Regions from separate parts of the Homo sapiens genome. Here region 1 is linked to region 2. The links are contacts of gene promoters, found by promoter capture Hi-C in human tissues and cell types (Jung and others, 2019). All regions are on one chromosome and are shown on one strand. The core of a region is centred on a gene start or on the middle of the fragment in contact, and the rest is flanking DNA. Distances in the headings are between cores, read along the strand shown. Region 1 overlaps SIL1 (SIL1 nucleotide exchange factor). Region 2 holds the start of ETF1 (eukaryotic translation termination factor 1).

Region 1 (4,527 bases), core at 639-3,138, 520 kb after region 2:
TCAGTTTGGATACTCCCAGCAATGAAAAGGGGAAAAAAATCCATAGGGATGCCTGCAGCAAAATTCTTAGGGTAGAATTTCTCTCTAGACCAGCTCTAAAGGATGGGACTCCACATCATTCTATTTATTGTTGTGGGGTGGTGTGTGCAGGGATCAGGGAGGTGAAAATGACAATCAGAGTGGGAGAAGAGGCAGATGGAGCAACAGGTACAGTGCAGAGACGGCAGTCATATAAACAACTGGTCCTAAGTCCTTGTCCACCTCCCATTGGGGGAGCCCACCCTCCTTAAATATAGGCAACTTTAACAAAACGAGGTTATTCACCTGAGCCTCCTTTCACCTGTCAAAGTGTAATGACAATCCAAATTTTCTGCCTTTTAGTTTAAAGTTTTGGATCGTTGGTATTGAGAGACCTACTAAGTAGTGTTGTGCTTTGCTTTCTTCACTTGTATTGCTGGTTTCACTAGAAGGAATTGCAGCCTTTAGCACTCGGATGACCTAGGCAATTGTTCAGCTGGTGGCAGAGGGCACAGACTCAGGAAGATCTGGTTCCAGGTCCAGTTCCACCACTTAATAGCTCTGAGACCTTGAGCAAATAACACCTATGACTCATCTGCAGAATGGGCATCAGAGTACCCACTTCACAGGGCTCACAGGGTTCACTGCCAGGAATAAGAGATCATGCATAGGAGATGCTCAGAGCTGACACCAGAGAGTTCTCAATAATGTTCTCTGCCTGGCTCTTGCCTCTCTGTGACTTGTTCAGTTTTCCCAGCTATGAGAAAAAGACCAGGGCCATGCCATGATAGATGCTCAAACTGAGTGTTAATCGGCTCTCAATACATACTTGATTGAGTTCTGCAGAGGAAAGAAGAGTACATGATTTTTTAGAATATTCATGTCAGGCTGTCTTGTTAAGGCTGCAAAAAATTCAGTAACAATGAGGGCTGCGGGGCATCCAAACTGAGAGGGCAGCAAATGAGCTGTTTAAACTTAGCCTGTACCACATCGAAAACACCCACTACAGCTTTCCTTGGCTCAGCCAACCTGCAGGCCACCAAACCCACTTAAGATGGGTCAGTCTCTGTCTCACTCCCCAAGACATCAGAATAGAAATCAAAGAGGCCATATCCAGCAGCAAAACTGAAGCAAATGTGGGGAGGATTTAAAGGAGCACAACTGCCAGCTGGCAACAAGGAAGAAGGGCTTCAGGTTTCCTGATAAACTTAGCTCAGTCACAAACTTAAGCCAGTTTTGCAACAATGCACCAAAGAGCTTATAAAAGCAGCTACCCTGCTCTGGGTTTCTGCTCCTCAGAGGGCTGTGCTGACAGGTGCCCACCCAAGCATGGGCAAGGAGGCCTGGATGTTCTAGGCCAATGCACACAAGGTTGGTGCTCCAGCAAAGCTGCTGCTGTGCACACTTCCAACAAGCAGCCTGCCTCACACCTCCACCCCACCTTCACAACAGCTGATGCTGCCCCCAACTGCACCCCCATACACCCAATCCTGGGCAACTAATGGGAACTCTGTGCTGTCACTTGATGAGAAACACTCTACCCACTATACACTCCTGAGTCTTCTCCAAGTACCCAGGCAGAAGTATATGGAACCTCTGGCCTTGGTGCTCCCTCCTATTCATAGGCAGATTCAGGCCCTACTGACTACTTGTGGTCTGGATCACTTTTGACAGAAGTCGTCTCCCAACAAGTCATCTCTCTGATATCCTCTTTCAAACTTCCATTTCAGATTTATAAAAGAGAAGGCAAATCCCTCATAACTTCAGGACCTCAGCATTCTGAGCTAGAAAGAACTTCAGGAGATCATGAGACCCAGCCCCCACTGAAAAGATAAATGTTCCCTCCTTGTGCCACTGCAGTTAAGTACAGCATCCCCCAGGACAGGCTTGTTGGCACTCTCCTTCTTACAAGCCTTCAGTGGCTCCCTGCTGCCCTCCGAAGTACCAATAATACTATCTCATGGTGTTCAAGGCCTGCCTAACCTAATGAAATCCTTGCTGATATTCTCTGCCTTATCGCCCCTCATCCACAGCTACCCCACGCTCTGGCTAAACTCCCCCTATGCTTTTCTTAGTCCTTAATGCCATCTCTTTCCTTGCTTTTTGCCTGTCAAATTTCAATGCTTTTTTTTTTTGAGATGGAGTCTTGCTCTGCCACCCAGGCTGGAGTACAGTGGTGCAGTCACAGCTCACTGCAGCCTTGACCTCCCAAGCTCAAGTGACAGTCCATTTTTTAATAGGCTAGCTTGAGCAACAACTCCATGCAGTTTTATACATTATCTTTCCATCCTTTCAATCTCTAGTGCCTTGCTTATTCTTTTCTAATGACACTTCCTCTATTCATTTTCTCTTAGTCATTTGGCTTCTTGTTAATCATTAAACAGACATTTACTGACCATCTACTATGTGCCAGGTTTTAGGAAAATTAAAAGTGAGACATGGCCTCTCTACTCTTTTTACTTTACTTTTATTTATTATTTTTTTGAGACAGGGTCTCACTCTGTTGCCCACGCTGGGGTGCAGTGGTATGATCACGGCTCACTGCAGCCTTGACCTCCCAGGCTCGAGTGATCATCCCACCTCAGCCTCCCTGGTACCTGGGACTACAAGCATGCACACCACACCCAGATAATTTTTGTATTTTTGTACAGACAGGGTTTCGCCATGTTGCCTCTCTACTCTTGAAGAGATCACTGGTCTAGTGAGGGAAACAAATCCATAAAAATTATAATACTTGCCAAGTTTTCCCCAATAGATTGTATTATTCTTGAAGTCAGAACATCTTTATATTCCCTGCATTGCTGAACAGAGTGCTTGGTACATAGCGAATGTCCATTGTGTATATGTTCTAAAACAAAGATGAGTGAGCATTATGGAAAGAAAAACAATTTCCTCTTTCTGAAATGTGGGGCAGAAGGATGTTGCAAAGATAGCCTTTAACTTGGGATAAGGGGAAAATAAACTTCTTATTTTTAAATGTATTTTAATTCCACAGCATCACTCCTCAACCCACAAGGAAAATAAGAGAAAGATACAAAGACTGAGAATTGCAAAGACAGAAACAAGCAAGCATCAAAATAGAATGGGATAGAAGTGTTGTTTAGTTCTTAACTACTACTAAACCACACACATCAGACTTTATCATGGGCTTCAGAGTATTATCACCTCTGATAACAGGATTTGATGAACTATTGGTCATAGCTCTACAACTGCTCTTTATCCTTAAACATTCAAGTATTTCCTAGTTCATCAAGCAGAAGTGGTTGGTGGTTAGGAAAACAAGAATAAGAACAATATTACTAGAGACCAGCTGGTGAAGCCTCTGAGATTATATGTGAAAGTTTTAAGTACACATTTACATTTTTCTAAAAAGGTCCATAGGTCTCATGAGTTTCTTAGAGAAAACTGTAAATCACTCTCAAAACACATACATAAACACTCATACCTTGAAGAGCCTCTGGGCCAATAATGGCAAGGCCTTGCAGCAACCGGCATCCTAATAACTGTAGGTAAGGATAAATTAGTGCAAGGCTTTTGGGCATCTGGCAACATCTATCAAAACTGTAACTGTTCATTCCATTTGACCCAGCAGATGCTATGTCTAGGAATTTATCTAATAGAAATGTTCACAGAAGTGCACAATGATATATGGATAGAGTGTTCACTATAGCATTCTAATAATTGTAAACAATGAGAAGCAATACAAATGTCCATCAGTAGGGGATTTGTTACACAATACAGCATATCCCTTCAATGGAATATATTAGTCTTCAACAAAAAAGAGGGAGCTTTGTACTGACATAAACAAGATCACTAAAACTAAGCAAAAATAAGTTGCATATATATGATTTCATCTTTCTTTTTAAAGAACATATGTTAATGTGGCAAAAGCAACGTCGTCTAATCTACCAAATCCTCACATAAAAACAGACTGACTAGAGAGCAAAACTAAACCCATGAGCAACATTTCTATCAAAACCAAGTGCAAAGGTATTGGGAAGCAACAAGTTGGCTGAGAGACCTAAGAACAAGAAAACACCTAAGTAGCTGATAGGCATTCACTAAAAATTATAGTGGGCCAATGGGTAACAGCAAGTGAACCTATGTCTAACAGTGGACAAGGACAAGAAGTCTGGGGTAGGACTTCAAGGGGCCACAGCTGTCTAGTCCCCTGAACTCTCAAAATTAACCAGTGCTCCCTACCAGGACAGGGCCCCACACTGAGAAAATACGGCTAGAAGTGAAATCAAAACTGAGTAGACTTGGACGACAGAAATAAAGGAAACAGAGTCCAGATAAAACTGGAGGAGTAAAACAGAGCCAGGAAACCTCATAAAGCAAGCTGCCATGTTTTTGAACACTACCTGAAAACAAGAGAAGAGAAAACTTTCTCAAGCTTGACTCAGAATGAAAAGGAAAAAAAAAAAAAAAAAAAGAAGAGAAAGCACTATGGATTTAGAAAAGGTAATTAAAGCCATGCTTTTTTCTAAAAGTTCAAGAAACCTAATT
Region 2 (4,274 bases), core at 747-3,246:
TCTGTACAGTATTCTCACATTTTGGGAATAACTGGTCACTCTATCATACGGCACAAGTTCCTGTAAGATCATTAAGAAGGTCTGGATATTCTATTGAATTCAAAGAAAAACCTAAGGACTAACAAGCCGCTGTCTTCGATTCATATTAAACTAACGTTTCTCCAGTAAACCGAAGGAGTGAGCACAAGCCCGTCACTGAATGGGGCCAAACTTTTAGAAGCCTCATTCCAAACAGAACTGTCCCTAATTTATTAAGAACAAAACACTAGTAAAACCAACCTGTGAATTGGGCCTTCAGTACAATTAAGCACATCCTGTTTCATATAACAGTAATAATGAAGAGCTTGGAGGGGCTGTCATTCTAAAATTGCAAATCTACCCATAAATGACAATCCTGGGCTGGAAACCAGAATGTCAAATTCTTGTGCTGAAATCAACTTTTCACATGGCCTGAGGCAGGCCATTCTACTATTCTAAGAATGCTCAGACATACAAGTATGTAATAATGTTCCAAACACTTTTTTTTGGGGGGGGGGGCACTTCCTGTAAGTAAAAAGTTTCTATGACTGGGAAAGGAACAAAATAAAGTAATAAAAGAAACAGGAATACCCCTGGCACACCTTCCTCAAACGAACAACGTTAAAAAAAAAAGAAAACACACACACACAGCTAATTTTAATCTAGCCTACTCTCCCCCCAATGGACACACCTACAGTTTCTTATCAAAATGTACAAGACTCAAAGCCCATTTAATTCAATTATGAATCTCACTCAACAAGCATCAAGCACATCAGGCGCCTCTCTACAGCGATATCCCCACAAGTTTCAGAGAAATGCCAGCAGGGACTCTGTAGTTATGATTCCTATCAAACGGCCCCCTAACCCGTATTTCTCCTGGACATACACATGCAGATTCATTAACCAAAACCTACCCAGCACCCCTCACATCGCGCGTACGTTGGCATTTTCAGTTTATAGGTGGGTCCTGGAACAGCTAAAACCAGGAAGCTCCGGGGTAATTAGAGGACTTGGGAGAAGTCATCTTGGGACAGGTGGAAGACCCAGAGAAATCAGGAATCAGAAAGAAGCTGTCCCTGGCCACCTCTGCTTCCCGTCCCATCCAAACTTCACCCACCCGGGTCTCAGAAGCCCAGAAGGGAGAGGCCATTTTAATGAGGCCTGGCTGAGAAATGAAGGGAGAAGAGGAAATCAGGGAAGGGCCCTGGGAAAGGAAGGCCGAACACTTTGCCACAATAGCACCCGAGTCGGGTGGCAGCACCTGGAGCCCGAAGAGGGAGGACCTGGACTTAAGGGCCCGGGAGAGGTGCAAAAGTAGCGGTGGCCTACCACGAGGGGGGCCGAGTGATCTAAACCGGGGAGCGCGGGCCCCTTACCCCCATGCGGGGAAAGGACCCCTTCTCGGGCCAACCGCGCCGACCCTCGCCCCTGGGTCAGGGGCTACTACCCAGAGATCCAGAAGGCGGGAGTTGGCTAGTGCCTGGTTCTCCTCATCCGGCCATGCGGCGCGGGGGCGTCCATCCTGAGGGGTCCGGGAACCAAGAGGGCACGGAGGGTGCCGGACGCGGCGCTCACCCGCGGGCCGCCTCCAAGCTCTTAATGAGCTTCTTGATCTTCCAGATCTCCACGTTCCTGTCGGCAGCACTGGGGTCGTCCGCCATCTTCTCGCCTCCTCCTCCCTAGAGCGGCCCGGCGGGGCCCGGAGACACCAAGACCACAGAGTTAGCGCCGCCGCTGGGGCAGAGCGGCCCCCTTCCTCGCCATCCCCCAGAGGCCCTCTCCTCCCGTCCGGTGCAGCTCGCCACAAAGGTCACCGGCCTTTCCCTCCCTGTGCCTTACCTAAGGGCCCAGTCCTGGGCGGCAGCGGCTGCTCCTCCCCGGCGGCGGCTCCGCGGCGGCGGCGGCTCTGACGTAGGACACCGGCTCCCTCTCTCCAGGCAGCTGCATGTGTTGCAATCCGCTCACATGGGGCCTGTGACATCACTTCCTCCGCCAGGGGCGGAGTGGAAGGCGGCAGGCGGAAGGGAGGGGGCCGGTGCGAGTGAGGAGAAGCTGGGCGTCCGCCGCGACTTCTCATTGGCTCTCTGCCCCGCAGCCTACAATGAGCCCGCCGATTGGCTGCAGCTGGGTCCGCGCCGCCTTGTGAGGTAAGGCTGGGGGGTGGGAGGTGCCACCTTTCTTCCGGCCCGGCAAGGCGAGAGGAGGAAGCGGGCGGAAGCCGGTGGCTCTCGCGAGTTTACTGAGAGCCCCCGTCAGGCTCGAATGGGGGTGGTTCTTAAAGAGAGAGGACCGGGGTCGTCGTCTTTTCAGTCCATTCTCCTTGAATAGGGTGGACATCTGAGGCTTTGCGACTCGAAGCTAGGCACTTGGGCCCGACGCGCGGTTTGAACGGTGCTTGAGAAGCCGCGAAGAAGCGCCTCGCGCTCAGCGGCTTCTTCGCTGACGAAGTGCTGCGGTCTGCGTGCGTCATGGCTGCACGGAATAGTGTGGAGGAGTCCTGGCCAGTAGGTCTGGATGAGGAACCTGCCTCCGGGCGGTCCGGGACCCTCACCTGCAGGGGCGAAAGAGGCCTGTTTTCTCTCGCCCCAGAGCTAGGACGGGCTCACTTTGGACTTAGAACTTTATGGGGTGGAAGACAGCGGGGGCTGCCTGAGCTTGGAGACCTGAGGTATCTGGTCCCATGTATGATTTGGCCTGAGCCGTTGAGAATGGGGGTGGAGAGAGTTGAAACAAAATGGGCATCCACATACGGTTAGAACTTTATCTTTTTGAGTTAGGATTTTTAGGTGGCTACTTTGTCCCCCCTCACCTCGTCTGGGTTCAAATATTGAGCCCAGACCGTGTGCTGGACCCTGTTTTCCTGGGGATACAGAGGTGAACCAAACAGATGACAGTACTTACCCTTATGGAGCTTATAGTCGATTGGGTTTTTAAGTTTGTGATTTTATACTTTTTGTAATAAAATAATTACACAAATGCTTAAGTACTTCAGGGTGCTCTGAGAGTGTATGGCGGGGACCCAGCTCTGAAATGAGACCCAAAGGATGATTAAGAGTTTGTCAGGAGGAAACAGAATACAGTTGAGAACTACAGAAACGCCAGTGTGCTGGCACAAGGTCAGGGACGGGGAGAGTGGTTTGAGGGAGCAGCAGGGGAAGAGGTCATGTAGGGTCTTTTAAGCCAGATTCAGAAGTTTGGTTTCTTTCAAGAACAGTGGGTAGTTTAAAGGGTTTAGAGCCCTGGTGTGGACTGGAGAGAGTACAGGAGAAGCCCAGAGACCATTTTGGCTGCTTCATTATCATGTGAGAGATGATTTTCGCTTACATTAGGGTGGTGACAGTGCAGATAGAAGTGAATGAAGGGCCTGGTGCAGTGGCCCACGGCTGTAATCCCAGCACTTTGGGAGGCCAAAGGGGAGGATCGCTTGAGCCCAGGAGTTTGCGAGCAGCCTGGGCAACATGGCAAGATTCCGTCTCTACAAAATTACAAAATATTAGCCTGGTGTGGTGGCCCGCGCCTGTAGTCCCAGCTGCTTGGGAGGCTGAGGTGGGAGAAACCCTTGAGCCGAGGAATTCGAGGCTGCAGTGAGCTGAGATCACACCACTACACTCCAGCCTGGGTGACAGAGCGAGACCTTGTCTCGAGGAAAAAAAAAAAGTGAATAGGACTGGATGATGGATTGGTTGAGGAAAACCAAGAATGGTTCCCAGAGTACTGAAGTGGTGACATTTACTGAGGTGGGAAAGGTGAGGAGTAGGTGTTGGGGGATGATTGAGAATTTCATCTTGGGCCTGTTAAGTTTGAGATTGCTTATGAGACATGTAAGTAGGGATGTCCGTCATGCGCTTTCATTTGTATGGTTTTTGAATACTTTTTGCATGTGTTATAAACTGTGTCCACACTTTGAAGATGGGGGTATGACCTCCATTTCATACATGGGGAAACTGAGGCAAAGAAAAGTGAAAGGGATCTGCTCAGAGTCCACAGCTAGTTTATGGCTTCCCGACTCCATTTTTGGAGTCCAGTGTATTATACAGTGACCCCATTACCTGTATTTTCATAGGGTGGGGACACGGTCATACTTCTGTCCCCCAGGAAATGAATCTCAGGTTGGAACCTCTTCTTTGGGTTCCATTTTGTAGTTTTTGGCATATGTTTATTTGTTATATAATATTGTACTCCTGCTGTGTGTGTGTCATTCACTGTGTTTAGTAGTGAACGGAGGGGTCTTCTTAGTCATAAACACTGCTTACTGA

Evidence for each region. The method cuts DNA at HindIII sites, captures the fragments that hold promoters and counts their contacts. A contact is called where the count stands out against the background at its distance.
Region 1: a fragment that was not itself captured here is called in contact with the fragment with the promoter of ETF1 in region 2 in 1 of the 25 tissues and cell types used here (mesendoderm cells).

Annotation. Positions count from the first base shown.
Region 1 is chr5:139,064,222-139,068,748 of GRCh38, forward strand. The region is part of intron 3 of SIL1 (SIL1 nucleotide exchange factor); the gene reads right to left. Among named protein-coding and RNA genes, the nearest start is that of SIL1, 130 kb to the right of the region's middle. The HindIII fragment of the contact is 6,028 bases long and covers 1-4,527 here.
Region 2 is chr5:138,541,240-138,545,513 of GRCh38, forward strand. ETF1 (eukaryotic translation termination factor 1) reads right to left here and starts at 1,997. Exons shown (of 11, transcript NM_004730.4): 1 at 1,858-1,997; 2 at 1,594-1,697. The coding sequence starts at 1,679. RefSeq lists enhancers at 1,508-2,707, 1,649-2,438, 2,158-2,557, 2,439-3,228 and a silencer at 1,818-1,867. The HindIII fragment of the contact is 28,551 bases long and covers 1-4,274 here.